Linked DNA regions of Homo sapiens: all the other regions are linked to region 4. Evidence: promoter capture Hi-C in 16 types of primary human blood cells and fetal thymus (Javierre and others, 2016). All regions are on one chromosome and are shown on one strand. The core of a region is centred on a gene start or on the middle of the fragment in contact, and the rest is flanking DNA. Distances in the headings are between cores, read along the strand shown. Region 1 has its middle 35 kb from the start of NKX2-5. Region 2 overlaps CREBRF (CREB3 regulatory factor). Region 3 overlaps BNIP1 (BCL2 interacting protein 1). Region 4 holds the start of ATP6V0E1 (ATPase H+ transporting V0 subunit e1).

What was found. Contacts are between HindIII fragments. The CHiCAGO score rates a contact against its expected background, and 5 or more counts as called.
Region 1: a fragment that was not itself captured here is called in contact with the fragment with the promoter of ATP6V0E1 in region 4 in 1 of 17 cell types (naive CD4 T cells); the score reaches 5.1 in naive CD4 T cells.
Region 2: a contact is called between a fragment that was not itself captured here and the fragment with the promoter of ATP6V0E1 in region 4, in 6 of 17 cell types (naive CD8 T cells, non-activated CD4 T cells, naive CD4 T cells and 3 more). The highest score is 6.2, in naive CD8 T cells.
Region 3: a fragment that was not itself captured here is called in contact with the fragment with the promoter of ATP6V0E1 in region 4 in 1 of 17 cell types (non-activated CD4 T cells); the score reaches 6.8 in non-activated CD4 T cells.

The regions. Positions count from the first base shown.
Region 1 is chr5:173,198,696-173,201,446 of GRCh38, reverse strand. No RefSeq gene overlaps it. Among named protein-coding and RNA genes, the nearest start is that of NKX2-5, 35 kb to the left of the region's middle. The HindIII fragment of the contact is 4,940 bases long and covers 1-2,751 here.
Region 2 is chr5:173,124,191-173,127,033 of GRCh38, reverse strand. All of the region lies in intron 8 of CREBRF (CREB3 regulatory factor), which reads right to left. Among named protein-coding and RNA genes, the nearest start is that of BNIP1, 19 kb to the left of the region's middle. The HindIII fragment of the contact is 2,627 bases long and covers 272-2,843 here.
Region 3 is chr5:173,160,674-173,163,792 of GRCh38, reverse strand. BNIP1 (BCL2 interacting protein 1) reads right to left here. Exons shown (of 6, transcript NM_001205.3): 6 at 1-68. Among named protein-coding and RNA genes, the nearest start is that of BNIP1, 18 kb to the right of the region's middle. The HindIII fragment of the contact is 1,217 bases long and covers 893-2,109 here.
Region 4 is chr5:172,982,420-172,985,307 of GRCh38, reverse strand. It overlaps ATP6V0E1 (ATPase H+ transporting V0 subunit e1), which reads right to left and starts at 1,537. Exons shown (of 4, transcript NM_003945.4): 1 at 1,344-1,537. The coding sequence starts at 1,447. RefSeq lists a silencer at 1,483-1,662 and an enhancer at 1,428-1,722. The HindIII fragment of the contact is 8,334 bases long and covers 1-2,888 here.

The DNA.
Region 1 (2,751 bases), core at 109-2,608, 220 kb before region 4:
AGCACAATGTATGTGATCTTTATGAATATTTATGTCACAGCTGTAAAGATTATACCAGGAGCTCAGAAAATGGCCTCCTGTTCCTCCTCGGCATAGCCAGCAGGGCTCGGGGAGTGGGGCTCTGTGCTGGTCCCAATGGACTTCTCTTTTGTCCTGCATCATCTTGGTTCCAGGTGGCCTGGAGTGCACAGGACTCACACTGCTGTATGGAGCTTCAGACTGTCCGTGGGACCGAGCCTTTCCCTGAGGCCTCTGAGTGGCAGCTCTCTCAACAGCCTCTGAGTTCCTCCCCTATATAAACTGCGAAATTTACAAATCCAGGTCATGAACCTCCTGAGAAATTGGATCCCTGTTCCCATGTGGCAGCAACTAGAGAAGCTCCGTGGCAGCTTGACCTGAGGTATCTTCATCCACTACACCACAGTCCCCACCACTCCCTATTGCTCCCCAATAAAATGATGGTGCCAATTAAAAAAAAATTTTTTTAGAGACGGGGTCTTGCTCTGTCACCCAGGCTAGAGCACATTGGCATGATCATAGCTCATTCTAGCCTTGAATGCCTGGTCTCAAACGATCCTCTCTCCTCAGTAGCTGGGACTACAGGCGCATACCACTGACCCCAGCTAGTTGTTTTTCTTATAGCAGTTTAGAACAGAGAAAGATTTCTATATACATGTCTTGGAGAATTAGAGATAGATGAAGAGGGTCCTTTGTTTCAAGGAGAACAGCAAAGAGTATATTTCTTGGTGAAAAGAAACATCCAGCCTGCCACATGGCCTGCCTGGTCCCTGTAGGCCTTAGATTTGCAGCCCCTGATCTGAGGAAAAAATCTAAATTCCTCTGCATGGTATAATGAAGTTGTATGATGCAATGGTTAGGATAAAGTTAGGCTGCTACAACAAAAAGACCCAAACTACAATTACCTAAACAAATGAGAAGGTTCTATCTTTTTTGTGTAAAATTTGCTCTGATTTGTGGCTTGATGGTATTGGGAATCCAGGCTCTACTTATCTTCTGCAATTCATTCTTAACATGTGGCAGCCATGTCTCTAACAGAATCATTGGGTAAAAAGTAATTTTTAAAATGCAGGAGCCACCTCCTGGTCTTAGATGGCTCCTTCACCCCAAGAAGGGAAGGGGAGCACTCTTGTTCCTTTTTTTTTTTTTTTTTTTTTTTTTGAGACAGAGTTTCACTCATGTTGCCTAGGCTGGAGTGTAATGGGGCAACCTTGGCTCTATGCAACCTCCGCCTCCCGGGTTCAAGCGATTCTTCTGCCTCAGCCTCCCAAGTAGCTGGGATTACAGGAATGCGCCCCCACACCTGGCTAATTTTTATTTTTATCTTTTGAATTTTTAGTAGAGACAGGGTTTCTTCATGTTGGTCAGGCTGGTCTCGAACTCCTAACCTCAGGTGATCTGCCCTCCTCGGCCTCCCAAAGTGCTGGGATTACAGGCGTGGGCACCACGCCTGGCTCGTGTTCCTTTAAGGGCACAATCCAGAACTTTCACTCATCTCATTATCTGAAATAGTCACCTTGCCATACCTACCTAGCTGCAAGGGAGGCTGACAAATGCAGGGTTAAGCTGATATTCATGTTAATGCCCATCAGGAAATTCAGTTACTCTATATAGAGGAGAAAAGGAACAATCCCTGCCACATGACAAGCCCTTCCCTCCAGCCTCATCTCCCACCTGCTGCCTCCAGAAATTTACTCTCTGGCAGCACTTAACCACTTGTAGATTCCCAGCAGCCATGATCTATCTCACCCTGCACCTTAGCATGTGCTGCTCCCTCTGCCGGGAATACCCTTCCCAGTCTGACTCCCTGTAAGTCCTCCTCATCCTTCAAGTCTCAGGTCAAGGGAGGCCTCTTCCATCCTGCCTCTGCCACCTGCCCCAGCTGAGCTCAGCATTCCCTTTACAGGACTTATTTTATACTTGATGGGAGCTCAGACCCTAGGGCCAGACTGCTGAGGCTACGTTCTGCTCTTACAGGACCTTGTGACCTAGGGCCAGTTACTAACTTATCTGGACCTCAATGCTCTCATTCATAAAATGAGAATAGTAGGACCTACATCACAGGGTTACTAAGCCAAATAAGAAAAAGAGCTGGATGCAATGGCTTATGCCTGTAATCCCAGCATTTTGGGAGGCCAAGGTGGACAGATCACCTGAGGTCAGGAGTTCGAGACCAGCTTGGCCAACACAGTGAAACCCTGTCTCTACTAAAAATACAAAAATTAGCCGGGCGTCATGGTGCGCACCTGTAATCCCAGCTACCTAGGAAGCTGAGGCGAGAAAATTACTTGAACCCAGGAGGTGGAGGTTGCAGTGAGCCAAAATCATGCCACTGCACTCCAACCTGGGCAACAGAGTGAGACTCTGTTGAAAGAAAGAAGGAAGGAAGGAAGGAAGGAAGGAAGGAAGGAAGGAAGGAAGGAAGGAAGGAAGGAAGGAAGGAAAGAGAGGGAGAGAGGGAGAGAAGGAGAGAGAGGGAGGAAGGAAGGAAGGAGAGAAGAAAGAAAGAAAGAAAGCAAGAAGGAAGGAAGGAAGGAAAGAAAGAAAGAGAGAGAGGGAGAGAGAGAGAGGAAGAGGGAGAGAGGGAGAAAGGGAGGGAGGAAGGAAGGAAGGAGAGAAGAAAGAAAGAAAGAAAGAAAGAGAAAGAAGGAAGGAAAGAAGAAAGAAAGAAAGGAGGGAGGGAGGGAGAGAGGAAGGAAGGAGAGAAGAAAAAGAAAGAAAGAAAGAAAGAAA
Region 2 (2,843 bases), core at 336-2,835, 140 kb before region 4:
AATCACCCTGCTCATTGAAGCCTTGACCTTCCAGGTTCAGGCTGGTCTTGAGCTCCTGACCTCAATCGATCCTCCCACCTCAGCCTCCCAAAGTGTTGGGATTACAGGCATGAGCCACTGTGCTCAGCCACCACATAGATTTTTAATCTTCATTTCCCCATATAAAAACAGAGCAACTAAATGGCAAAACCATAAACCCATGGAAAACATTTACAAGTGATAAGGTATCCCTAGGAACATTCAAGAAGGTAGGAACAAACTACCAAAAGCTTTAAGACATGTATGGCAACAGCATTATCAATATTTATCAATATTTATGTGGATGGGCCAAAAGGAAGTAATGGACATGAGAACAAAAAAAAATTTCCATATAGCGAATAGGTTACCCACTGGCAAGTACAGCAGAGTCAACTTGAGAACTGCAGCTAACGCTGTGAGGGATTTTCTCCAACCCAATATTGAATACAAGGTGAGTACAAGGAGCCCACAGTCAGAAGTGAAGGGGCCCACAGTTGAGCCTCTGTGAACTCTGAAAATGGACCAGCCAGGACTCTTGCAGGACAGGAGCAAGCCGTGATAAAACAAAAAAAACTGGCCAGGTGCAGTGGCTCAGGCCTGTAATCCCAATACTTTGGGAGGCCAAGGCGGGCAGATCACTTGATGTCAGGAGTTTGATACTAGCCTGGCCAACATGGTGAAACCCCATCCCCAGTAAAAACACAAAAATCAGCCGGGCGTGGTGGTGTGCACCTGTAATCCCAGCTACTGGGGAGGCTGAGGCAGGAAAATCGCTTGAACCTGGGAGGCAGAGGCTGCAGGGAGCCAAGATCACGCCACTGCACTCCAGCCTGGGCGACAGAGTGAGACTCTGTCTCAAAACAAAACAAAAAACCCTGGGGTTGAAATTAACATTGAGCAAGAAAGGAACTAAAGATATGAAACAGAGATGGTCCAAATAAAATGAGGGAGGGAAGCAGAACAAGAAATCTCAGAAAGACAGGTGCCATTTTTTTGTTTTTGTTTCAGAGATGGGTTGCCATGTTGCCCAGGCTGGTCTAGAACTCTTGACCTCACATGATCCTCCTGCCTCAGCCTTCCAAGTGACTGGGATTACAGGAAAAAGCCACCAAACCTGGCGTGCCATGTTTTTTTGTTTTGTTTTGTTTTTTTGAAAAGGAGTCTCGCTCTGTCGCCCAGGCGGGAGCGCAGTGGCACAATCTTGGCTCACTGTAACCTCTGCCTCCTGGGTTCAAGCAATTCTCCTGCCTCAGCCTCCCAAGTAGCTGGGACTACCGGCGCGTGCCACCACACCCAGCTTTTTTTTTGTATTTTTAGTAGAGACGGGGTTTCACCATGTTAGCCAGGATGATCTCGATCTCCTGACCTCGTGATCTGCCTGCCTCGGCCTCCCAAAGTGCTGGGATTACAGGCGTGAGCCACCGTGCCCGGATGCCATGTTTTTAAATGTTAACTGAAAAGCGGAGACTCTGTGAAAAAAGAAAAGCTATTCTGAACCAAACCTTCTTTTAAAAGTTCAGAGGAACTAATTTCACACATATATGAACAACAGAGAAGTATCAAGGTCAGAATCCCACAACTTTTTCTAAGAAAAAAGAGAATAAAAGACATTAAAGAAAATGGCACGATACATGAAAGAACATAAATCAGAAATAGAATAACTAAGAAATAAGGTGACAGAATTCAGAAAATAATTAGAAATACAGGGGAAAATTCCTGAAAGTAAAAGGAACCTAAGATCAGCAAGTAATGACAGCAAATAATGCTTTAAGAGAAACAGAAGGTAAAAAGGAGAAATAATGTTAAAAATGAAGAGATAAAAATGATTCAAGAAAAAGTGACACAAGGCAGGAAGATCATTTGAAGTCAGGAGTTCGAGACCAGCCTGGCCAACATGGTGAAACCCCACCTCTACTAAAAAATACAAAAATTAGCCAGGTGTGGTGGTGGGTGCCTGTAATCCCAGCTACTCAGGAGGCTGAGGCAGGAGAATCACCTGAACCTGGGAGGTGGAGGCTGCAGTGAGCTAAGATTGTGCCACTGCACTACTGCCTGGGTGACAGAGCAAAACACTGTCTCAAAAAAAAAAAAAAAAAGAAGAAGAAGAAAGAAGAAGAAGGAAGAAAGAAGAAGAAAAGAGAAAAGAAAGACAGACGAATACTAAAGATGGGCCAAAAAGAGCCAATCTATAGATAATAAGAGTCCCTACAGAAGAAAAGCAAAGCAAGGGAACAGATCAAACACTAAAAACATTTGAAAGTACATATTGAAAGAACACAGTATAAACATAAAAATGTCAACTAAAAATGACCAACTCTAAGATATAACTTAGCAAAATCACTGGTATTTAAAGAAAAAATCCTTTTGGCACCTAAGCAAAAACAGCAAAGTACTTATAAGGAAAAAATAATTAGTCAATATTGGCTTTTCTTTTTTCTTTTTTTTTTTTTTTTTTTGAGACAGAGTTTTGCTCTGTCACCCAGGCTAGAGTGCAGTGGTCTAATCTTGGCTCACTGTAACCTCCACCCCTCCTGCATTCAAGCGATTCTCCTGCCTCAGCCTCCCAAGTACCTGGGATTACAGGCACCTGCCACCACGCCCAGCTAATTTTTGTATGTTTAGTAGAGACAGGGTTTTACCATGTTGGCCAGGCTGGTCTCGAACTCCTGACCTCAAGTGATCTGCCCGCCTTGGCCTCCCAAAGTGTTGGGATTACAGGCATGAGCCACCAAGCCCAGCCAGTATTAGCTTTTCTATAGCAACACTTTATGCCAAAAGAAAATGGAGACTCATATTCAAGATACTCAAGGAAAGAAAATACGAGT
Region 3 (3,119 bases), core at 252-2,751, 180 kb before region 4:
CAGCTGGATGGTGCCCGACATGGACTTAAATTCTTCATTTGCATCCAGGATCGTTCGTGAAGAAGTGACTGAAACAAAAGAGGAAGGAGGCCCAACTCAGAGACTGCAGCTCAAGATCCAAAGACCTCACTCTGCTGGCTGGGGTGCTGATAAAAACCAGCATTCTCAAGTGAGTTCCTCTGAGCTGGAATCAAAGCATGTGGAGACCAGCCAAGGAGCTGACAAGGAAAGGCTCCTCCCCAGGTCCCATCAGCTCCAGAGAGTGAGGGGGGGTTTGTCTGGGAGTCCTTGAACATGAGCGTCACCAGGGAGAAGGGCAGAAGAGGCTTGCTCACCCAGCCACCTCCTCAGCTCTCTGAAGCAGATGGACGCTGCTCAGGGAAACCACCAGCCACAAAATCAACCCAGGGATCGTGGGCAGGCACTGTGAGGTCTGTGTTGGGGCAGCAGCCAAATGCACCAGAACCTTCCACCTATGAGGTGCGGCCTCCAGGACATCTGCTGGCCAGACCGGCACTTTGCAGGATCTCAAAAGGGCAAGGGTGTCCCGGGCTCTGCCGTAAGCCCTCACACATACCAGTCCCTCAGGCCAGGGATACTGGCTGTAGCTTTAAGGAGGTGACACCTAAGAAGAGGCCCACGTCCCTTAAGGAATCACTGTCCCCAGAGTCAGATGTATTTCTGAATATGGGTATCTGGGCCTGACGCTGAGGGTAGAAGGTGTACCTGGCGAGGTTCTCCCACAAAACATAGCAAGGCATCATCAGAACAGCCATTGAATAGAACACATTAAGTGAAAAGGGAAAGTATAAAGGAACGCCTGTGAAATGTTTCCATTTAGGTAAGAAACAGGGAGATAAATGGTATTTCATTTGCTTAAGTTACAAAAGCTTGGAGGATCACAAGATATTTTTTAAGACACTGGTTACAGAGGTTGCCTCTGGGAAGTGGACCAGAGGGCTGGCAGGTAGGGGTCAGCTGGAGGTCAGAACAGAGAGTGATCTTTTTTGTGTCCCTTTTGTACTCTCCAGAGCTGTGCTGACCAATATGGCAGCCCCTAGACATGCGAGGCTGCTGTGCATAGAAAAACGTGGCTAATGCAAATGGAGATGTCAGGAGATGTAAGTGTCAAACCCACACAATGTTTCTTTTCTTTTTTTTTTTGAGATGCAGTCTCACTCTGTCACCCAGGCTGGAGTGCAGTGGCGTGATCTTGGCTCATCACAACCTCCACCTCCCAGGTTCAAATGATTCTCCTGCCTCAGCCTCCCCAGTAGCTGGGACTACAGGCATGCACCACCACGCCCAGCTAATTTTCTTTTTGTATTTTTAGTAGAGACAGGGTTTCAACATGTTGGTCAGGCTGGTCTCGAACTCCTGACCTCAAGTGATCTGCCCGCCTTGGCCTCCCAAAGTGCTGGGATTACCGGCATGAGCCACCGCGCCTGGCCAAAATCCACACGATGTTTCAAAGACTTAATCTAAGAAAAAGGAATGTAAAATATCTCAATAGTTTTTAATATTAGTTTTACATTGAAATTATAATATTTTACATAATGGGTTAAATAAACATCTTACTAAAATTAATTTCTTATGTTTCTTTTTACTTTTTAACATGTGCCTACTGGAAAATTTAAAGTTACATACGTGGCTGCTGTTGCGTTTCTATGGCAGTCCTGGGCTAGAGTTTTCTTATCCTTCTCTATGCTGTATGTGTTACCTTTTTAAAAATTAAAAGCTAATAAGTAAATAGGATAAATTATCAGAGGAAACACAGCAGCGTTTTGAAAATGACAGATAAAAGGAGAAAAACAAACACTCACAGAACAGGAATCCCTCTCCGCCTGCTTTCTCCACGCCTGCCTGCTGCGATTTCAAAACCCTGAGATCTTGCTAAGTAAAAATCTAATAGGCCTTTCTTTTTAAACTTTATTATTACGGAGAATTTTGAACCATCACAGAGCAGACAGCATAATATCATGAAATGCCATGTGTCCACCACCCATAACCAAGAACCACCAACCTCTGAAATCCTGCTCCCCCTCCCCCCAACTGCAACTACTCCTGCAATTGTGGAGCAAATTCCAGACACCATATTCCTAATAAGCTTTTTGTTTTAAAATTATGGTCCTAGTAGGCTTTTAAATCAAGCTGAATTTGTGAGGCATAAGGAAAGGGTTAAGAACTGTATTCTTCTCTTTTCTTCAATAGTTATCGCTTGTACAAAATGGGCCCCAAGAACACCGGGACCCTCTCAACACCCCAGAAGCCACCAGCATTTGTGTTTCCTTCCCACTGTTAGCGGGGGGTATGCTGTCGCCACACCAGAGCATAAAAGCCCTGGGCTCAGAGGCCAAGTTGTCGCCTTGCTCCCTCTCTCTCCAAGGCCTCTCCCACAGCACACGCTGAGAGGAAGCCCCTGGCTGGTTCCGAGCCCAGATGTTCAGGTAAGCTGCAAACTCAAGGAGTGACCTTGGGGTCACCTGCTTGCTTTCCTTTTGCTTCTGCCTATTTGGTGCACTGAAAAAACAGTGGTCCAAAATTATAATTTCTAGGGGTGATCATGGTATTGTAGTTATGGGGTTGCTTCTGCTTTTTCCCCAAAGAGTCCCTTATCTTTTAGAGAGATGTACTGAGATATTTATGGATGATGTCTGGGATTTGCTTCAAAATAATCCAGATGGGGGATGGGCTGAGGGTAGAACTGAAACGAGACTGGCTGGGGTAATGGACTCAGGGCTCAGGGGATTCAGGATACCATGCTTTCTCCTTTTGTCCACGTGTGCAATTTTCCAAAAGCGTTTCAAGGAGTAAACGCCCTTTTTCTGTTGTCTTATACTGAAGGACCCTGGAGAGGGCTGATACTCTTCTCCATCACAGAGGAGACACTCTGGGAAAACTATTGGAGGAAACCAGATGGTCTCAAGCAGTCTCTCCTGTAGCCTCTGATTCACATCTTTTAAAAGGAACTCATAGGAAAAATAACGTTGGGGAGTATAATTGTAAACTGAGGTCCTAGCAGTCCTACCAGCAGCTGATTCGCCAAACATCTCTTGGAGCAACCATTCCCAAACTTGCCTGGCCATATGGGTCCCCAGAGCCCTCACTGAAAATCAGAC
Region 4 (2,888 bases), core at 288-2,787:
TCAGGTCACAAAATATTAGGGAAGTAGTAAAAATCTTTTTCTTTCTTTTTTTTTTTTTTTTTTGAGACGGAGTCTCGCTCTGTCGCCCAGGCTGGAGTGCAGTGGCGCGATCTCGGCTCACTGCAAGCTCTGCCTCCTGGGTTCACGCCATTCTCCTGCCTCAGCCTCCCGAGTAGCTGGGATTACAGGCGCCCGCCACCACGCCCGGCTAATTTTTTGTGTTTTTAGTAGAGACGGGTTTCACCGTGTTAGCCAGGATGGTCTCGATCTCCTGACCTCGTGATCCGCCCGCCTTGGCCTCCCAAAGTGCTGGGATTACAGGCGTGAGCCACGGCACCTGGCCAAAAATCTTTTTCTTTTAATAAAGACAATAGAACTATTCACTCAACAGGTATTTATTGGGTGCCTCCTGTGCATACAAGGTACTATGAAAACCAGGCACTATGAAGCCACCAATTAGGTTCAAGAATAAAGCAAGAGATGGTGTTTCTGACAAACTGACTTCAGTCGAAGTTTCACCTCTCATCATCTTGAACTGAGAAAAAAATGACTGAGAAGCAAAAGAGGAACCAGGAAGAGGGTGTTCCAAGGCTCCTTTGAAGATTAAGCCTCTATTTTATACTACAGTTAAAAAGTTTAATTCCAAAAGAGACAAAGCTCTAACCAACAAAGAAGTCTGGAAAAACAAAATCTTTCTTAGCCAATCATTCTAAGCACTTCTTACACTCACATACAAGAGCCGGAGCGCCCTCCAAAAGGCATGACGCAGGGGTTTCTCAACAATACCTCCTGCTCTTTGGTAATTAATCTCGCTTTAGATCAGGCCCCAACCGCCTCCTGGCGCCCACTAGATGCAAGGCCTGGGCTCAATGTTGTCGAAGGAGCTTGTTCTGTACGCAACCGCGACAGCATGGGAGGCAGAGAAGCCAATTTCTGTTTTATTTATTTGATCCTTAAGTTCAGGCAAACGAGGCCTCATGTGGGTGGAAGGCAGGGCTAAAGGGGGACAGTCGACTAGGGACAAACCCCAGTTTCTCCCAGATTCGGCCTGCTCATTTCCGACTGCACCTCCCCACACAGGACTATGATGAGAAAAAATTCCCCTGAAACTCGTTTCCAAGGGGGGTCCACCAAAGGTCACCCTCCACTCGCTCAGGCCGGAGGACACTGAAGCTGCTGCGAAAAGGAACACAAGGAGTTCCGCCGGGTCGGGGGCCTGACTCTGCAGCGCGGGGGGCGCCCATGCAACGTTCTCTGACCCGTGTGGGGGTCGTGCCTTTCCCCGCCCCGGCCTGCTAGCTCCTCACCGCCCGTTCCTCCCAAGGCGGGCCTCACGCACTTACCCCCGGTTAGGACCCTTAGGGATGAACCAAGGCACCAAGAAGCCGACGAAGCCCCAGAACACGCTCATCACAATGAGAGGCACAGTGAGGCCGTGATACGCCATGGTCGCCGCCTGAGCGCCAACCCCTACCCCGTCGCCTCACTCGGATCCCACCAGGAAGTGTCAATAGCTGACCGCGTGACCAGCGTGTGCAAGCCCCGCCTCCCGCGCCCCCACGTGACCCGCGCGCCGGCCTCCGCCCCTCGGGGAGCCCAGAGGCAGAGCCCCGCCTTCGCCTGGCTGTCTCCTGGCTGCAGCTCCTTGGAGGCATGTCGCTCACCCCAGAGCTAGGGATTCGGTCACCCGGGGCTCAGCAAAGTGTTCTGATGAGAACTTGGCCCTTTTAGACAAAGAGTGTAGTTATCTACAGCCTCATCTACTTATGCAACAGACATAGAGAACTTAACAATAGTTGTCCCTTACTATTCTGAATTCCCGTGTGCCTGGCACTGGGCCATGATCTTTAAGTTCATGAGCCCCAGGCCGGGTGCGGTGGCTCACGCCTGTAATCCCAGCACTTTGGCAGGCTGAGGCAGGCGGATCACTTGAGGTCAGGAGTTCGAGACCAGCCTGGCCAACATGGTGTAACCCTGTCTCTACTAAAAATACAAAAATTAGCTGGGTGTGGTGGTGCGCGCCTGTGGTCCCAGCTACTCAGGAGGCTGAGGCAGGAGAATCAATTGAACTCGGGAGGTGGAGGTTGCAGTGAGCCGAGATTGCGCCACTGCACTCCAGCCTGGGCAACAGAACAACACTCTGTCTCAAAAGAAAAAAAAAAAAGTGCATGAGCCCGTGTTGAACTCCTCACTTCAGCCTATGAGGTAATTGTAATTATTATCCCCACTTTGCAGTTGAAGAAACTGAGGCCCAGGGAAGAGGATAAGGATCTTGCCCAAAGTCACATAGTAAGTGGCAGGGCCAGGATTCAACCCCTGATTATCTGATTTTCAAGGCCAGAGCTCTTAACTAGCGCACCACTATTTATCTTGTGTGCTGTGCCAGGCTCTGGAGTTACAGAAGTCAATCAGGCACCCCTGAGGGAGTTCACATTCTGGGGAGCAGATGACCTTGCAAACAGGCGACTCAATGCAGTGTGAAAGTAAGTGGACGACCCTGCAAGGCTTTCTACCCAACTCGTCCTTGCTGAGCCTTGAAAGACAAGTAGAAATTAGCCAGAATGGTAAGAAGAAAAACAGGCCAGGCATGGTGGCTCACACCTGTAATCCCAGCACTTTGGGAGGCCGAGGCGGGCAGATCACCTGAGGTCAGTAGTTCAAGACTAGCCTGGGCAACATGGTGAAATCCCATCTCTACTAAAAATACAAAAATTGGCCAGGTATGCACCTGTAGTCCCAGCCACTCAGGAGGCTGAGGAACAAGAACCGCTTGAATCCCTGGGAGGCAGAGGTTATAATGAGCTGAGATCGCACCACTGCACTCCAGCCTTGGCGACAGAGTGAAACTCTGCCTCAAAAAAAAAAAAAAAAAGAAAGAAAGAAAAAGA